Linked DNA regions of Homo sapiens: region 1 is linked to region 2. The links are contacts of gene promoters, found by promoter capture Hi-C in blood cells and fetal thymus (Javierre and others, 2016). All regions are on one chromosome and are shown on one strand. The core of a region is centred on a gene start or on the middle of the fragment in contact, and the rest is flanking DNA. Distances in the headings are between cores, read along the strand shown. Region 1 has its middle 63 kb from the start of GBP6. Region 2 holds the start of GBP6 (guanylate binding protein family member 6).

The links. The method cuts DNA at HindIII sites, captures the fragments that hold promoters and counts their contacts. A CHiCAGO score of 5 or more calls a contact.
Region 1: a fragment that was not itself captured here is called in contact with the fragment with the promoter of GBP6 in region 2 in 1 of 17 cell types (activated CD4 T cells); the score reaches 5.4 in activated CD4 T cells.

The regions. Positions count from the first base shown.
Region 1 is chr1:89,426,160-89,428,859 of GRCh38, reverse strand. No RefSeq gene overlaps it. Among named protein-coding and RNA genes, the nearest start is that of GBP6, 63 kb to the right of the region's middle. The HindIII fragment of the contact is 865 bases long and covers 939-1,803 here.
Region 2 is chr1:89,362,736-89,365,435 of GRCh38, reverse strand. GBP6 (guanylate binding protein family member 6) reads right to left here and starts at 1,377. Exons shown (of 11, transcript NM_198460.3): 1 at 1,309-1,377. The HindIII fragment of the contact is 2,752 bases long and covers 919-2,700 here.

The DNA.
Region 1 (2,700 bases), core at 122-2,621, 63 kb before region 2:
TGGTTTAGGTAACTGACACTCCCAAGACTCAAGGAGCTGCCGTGCAGCACTATTTTGAAAGCCCAGCCCCCATCAGACTGTATCTTGCTCTGGGGCGAACAGCCCCATCATCTCCACGTCCCTGGAACCCTGCGGACATCTCTTCATTTCCACCCAGAGGGCTGCAACTTTGTCCCGTGGGCTGAATCCAGTGGTGCAGTAAGGAACAGCAGTGCACCACACCAGGGAGGCTGCCCCCAGGACAAAGGGAGCCTAAATGCACACTCCTCAGTTTCTGAAAGCCACTTGCCTGGGGCCACTGCCACCAACAGCAACCCTCTCAACCTTCCACCGGAAGCAGGGCCACCAAGCATCTGCATGTGCCTCCAATGGTCCTGGAGCTGGTCTACCCAGACACTGTTCTGTGTCCTGAGGACAGGCTCTCACACCACCCACCATGCAAACATGCTGCCCAGGGCCTGGGGATCATGCTGCCTCAACTGTAGCTGTGGGCATGTGCATGCAACATCAGGAAGTCTGACAGCAGGCCCAGGTCACCTGCCACTGGGACCCAAGCATGCCATCCAGGGGCCTGGTGATTTCCTGGCCCCACTCACCATAGCCTGCACACTTGCACACCATTGGAGGGTCTAAGGGCAGGAAAGCAACATGCCTCCCTGGAGAGAGCTTGATTCTATTCTGGCATATGCTAGAGAAAAGTACTAAACCAAGTCAGATGCTTTGGAATGTGGTCTAAATATTAATGCTACCAAACTGGGGAGGAAGTAACTCAGTTTTGCTGATTTTTCATTTTCTTATGCTTTATTGGTTAACAAAGAAACCATTATTTGCTTTTGAAGGCAGAGTTATTATTTTCTACCATGAAGTTACTTCAACTCATAAAAATGTATTTTATTTACACCTTTGTAGCAATGGAGCTTGGAAGAAAATATAAAGCTTACCTACATGAACATTTCATCTAGTATTCTGTGGTCTCACCTGGTCTTCTATGAAGTTTCAGTTCAAGTGAGGAAACAGCACCATGCTCTATTATGAAAGGAGGCATTTGCCATGTGATTGGATCAGAGGTAGCTCAAGGTAATAAAAGGCCTCAAAGCAATTAGAAAAGACAGAATTATTAATGTGGATTTAATGGCATTAACTGCTTCCCTCCTTTTTTCTCACTGTGTTATTTTGAATAACCACATAGTTTTTTCAAGATTCTAATATATATAATCTAATCCATATGATTTTTGTACGTGTGAGTTACACAAGGCCGGTATATAAAACTTTGACCAATGTGTCTGTAAATCAGAGTTCTGCAAACTATGGCTTATGGGTGCCACCCTGTTATTGAAAATAAAAATTGATTGGAACATAGCCACACCTATTGGTTTATGTATTTTCTATGGCTGCATTTGCACTACATGCAGAGCTGAGTACTTGAGACAGACTGTATGACCTGCGAAGTCATAAATAGTTACTATCTGGTATTTTCAGAAAAGATTGCCAACCATTGCTATAAAGACTAAAACCTTCTTTTCTGACAAAAATAACTGCAAAAAGAAAACTTAATCAGAAATAAGAAGCCTAGTGAAATACATTGTATTTACAGTTCAGAAATAATTTTTAATTGCTATAAGAAACATCAACCACTTTCCTAGGACTTTTGACACATGAGATAAAGTCTATGTATACTAAGTAAACACAAGAACATTATTAAATGGGTCAAAAATGTCAAAAAACATCCGATATTCTCTTCTGGGGAAACTCAGCAAGATTTCAAGTATGAGTGTTAAGAATTAGAAAAGACTAGCATAAGCTTTAGCATTCTAAATAATAAGTAATTGAATTAATTCAATTCTGTTACACAGCATCTTTTAAAGTCAATCTTTGCAAATTATACATTGCCATAAATACAGTGTGTAATTGGCATTATGTGACTTTGTTTAATCCAGTGTCAACTGTCTAATGGTCTAAAGTGTCCCATTAAAGTTATAATCTGGATGAACTGAACAAGAAGAAAAGTTTTCTTCTTTAGCCCATTTGTTTATCACTCAATTCCTGCTCCTGCTCATGGTTTCTTCCACCTACCTCTGGAGAACATAAAGGGATTCTAGATCTCTGTATAAGGTGGTTTGCTTTAGCTTGAAATCATCAGTGAGGACAATACATGGGCAATGTCCACAAATCACATTATTGCTCATAGACTGTGTAGCCCTGATCTAATGGATAACTGTACATTGTCTTCACTAAGAAGCCAGGGTGGTTGTCCTTGATATTGGGACATTGTAGACTTGGCCAGACCAATGCCCAAATATTTCCCAAGACTTTTACCTAAGACTCTGCTCAGTACCCATTTGTCTACTGCTGGTCATCTGGAAGAATAAACTCCTGGGTGGTACCAGCTCATGAACCTTCCTGAGTTGGTACAGAGGTAAATGCATCTTTTTTGCACAATTTACAGTCTTTTTTTTTTTGGAAAAAACATGATTTTGATCATTGTACTGCATGCCTTTATAAATTTTGGTGTTATGATGCAAGATCTAATTATTATCAAATGTAGTGTCGCTTGTTCCAAATTCTAAAATTGTTTCAATTATGCCTTGGGTAGGGGTGACAGGAAGGCTCTGGTCTTTAGTTTATGGTACATGTCCTTGGTTGTATCATTGTCCTCTGGAGATTCTGTATCTCATTTTGGATTCTTCTGCTTACGTTTTC
Region 2 (2,700 bases), core at 128-2,627:
GATTTCCACAGTGAAATGCATTGTAATGTGATGTGTAACGTGTTCATCACATTACAGTGACTGCAACTGTACAGTCCCTTCTTTAAAGTGAACAATAAAGGCAGCTCTAGGAAGATGTGGCTGCTCCTGCAAACAACTTTATATAAACCAGGTCTCTGGTTTCTTAGCTGTGTGGGAACCACAGACCTTTTAACTTCTACTAAATGAAATACAGCTGTTCAATCCTATTCAGGACTGGTTTTCACACTCTGATGTACATAAGAATCACCTGATCACTCTGATGATAGTTTCTTTTGCTGTGCAGAAGCTCTTTAATTAGATCCCATTCTCAGCAAACTAACACAGGAACAGAAAACCAAAAACTGCGTGTTCTAACTGGTAAGTGGGAGTTGAACAATGAGAACATGTGGACACGGGCGGCGGGGGGTTGGCGCTGGGGGTGGGGGTGGGAAACTCACACACTGGGGCCTGTCAGTGGGTGGAGGGCAAGGGGAGGGAGAGCATTAGGACAAATACCTAATGCATGCGGGGCTTAAAACCTAGATGACGGATTGATAGGTGCAGCAAACCACCATGGGACATGGTGGTTTTTAAAAAAATCTTTTTTATTTTAAACATAGTGTCTATTCTTCATCTTTTTTTTTTTTAAAGAATCAACTGAGAGGATTGTTCAAACCCAGATTCCCAGGCCTAAGTATCCATCTGTTTAGCAAGAGCTACAAGAGACTCTGATGTTCCTATGGGAAACTAACACCCCCCTCCTCCCCCACCCCCTCCCCACACACACATACACACACACACACACACACGCACACACAGAGTTTGGACTATATAATTATTTTTAAGTAATAAAGACCAGTGATGTGGGGCCTAAGTTTATTTCTACATAGAGATTTATAGAGCTCTTATTCTGAAGCTTTCCTAAGTGTGACCACTAGAAAGATAGACAAGAAACTCTCCCTTCCGGTATAATTGCCTGGAAGCTCCTTGTTCTCTGCATTCTGGGGCTTGCCGCAGGACCTGAGAGAGATAGCCAGGCAGGCGCCCACCAGGGCTCATTCCAGGCCACTCACTGCTGTCCTGAGTTGATGATCAGGGAACAGCACATCCAGGGGGACGCGGCGTGCCCGGCTGTCACTGGTTCAAGTGGAGAAGCTGAGCTTCCCCAGAACTAAAGCCAGCCACAGACTCCTGCAGGCCAGGCAGCAGGCACCCTGCCCTTCCTGCCCATTCCTCAGTTACCACTCTGAATCAGAAACCAAGTCTTGAGTTAGGAACTAAGTTGCATTTAAAAGAAAGTGAACATACCTGCTCTATAGCACCGCAGGTCCAAGAACAGTTTTCAGTTGCCTCACTCACCTCTTGTTTTCTTTCCTCCTTTTACTTTTCTGTTCTTTCCTTTATAAAAGGAAAAAAAAGCTGAGTAAGCTAGTTGTTTCCACAAATGGGATGGTGCAGTAAAAATAAACTTGGAAGTAAAATTAATCCATGCTTTTAATAAAGTGTTAGCAGAGCCATGCCTGAATCATCCGATGTGAGTTTGAGGATGGGTGTTGGGTGCAGGGGTGGGAGGAGGTCAGAAAAAGCCACAGATACTGCACAGTCACACCTTAGCAAGCACAATCCTGCCAGCTTTCTTTTGTCTTTCCCATCTTAGAAGGCTTCACAGGCTTTCTTCTTGATACCGTTCCCAGGTGGCTTTAGTTTCCTAGGCACACAAGAAAAACAGGAAATCTACAGTAGTCACATAAGCAAAGCCTTAGAAACCAAGAATATTTTAAGCATTTTTCTCTTAGTGGGAATTCTTGAGTTCTGGGGTCTTTTGTTAGTGAAGAACTTTTGATATTTTAAATGTGTTCACACATGCACACACACACACAGAAGAGAGAGAGAGAAAGAGAGAGAGCTAAAGATATTACTGGTTTAAAAAAAGAATGAACCATGTCTTTTACAGCAACATGGATGGAACTGGAGTTCATTATCTTAGGTGAAACAACTCAGAAACCGAAAGTCAAATACCACATTCTTACTCATAAGTGGAAGCTAAAAAATCTGCATACATGGACATAGAAGGTGGAATGTGCAGTGCATAACAGTGTACAAGCTCCTATGAGAATCTAATGCTGCTGCTGATCTGACAGGAGGCAGGTCTCAGGCCTTAGTGCTCTCTCCCTACTCACCTCCTGTGTGGCCCAGTTTCTAACAGACCATGCTCTGGGGGTTTGGGACCCTTGATGTGGACTATTTATCCAACAACCCACAGTTTCCATTGGTTGAGTCTTATCCCCAGGGACTTTAACTATTTTGAATTCACAAGCTGCCCTTGGGCAAAATAGACACCCTTTCACAGCTTGGAGAAACATCTGAGTGAGAAAAGGAGAAAGACTCTCTACAGAGGACATAGCAGCATGCTGGGACTGTCTACCATGGCTGCACTGCTAAATGGATTTGAGAACAGAAGCAAGTGGCAGAATGAGCAGACATGAGTTTTGGCAATAACTTAGGCTGAGGATTTGGGGAGTGTGGTAGACTAATCTGAATACTCTATTCAGACAAAGACTTGTGTTAAAAATGTAAAATTCTGGGCCAGGTGCGGTGGCTCACTCCTGTAATCCCAGCACTTTGGGAGGCCGAGGCGGGCGGATCACGAGGTCAGGAGATCAAGACCATCCTGGCTAACAGGGGGAAACCCTGTCTCTC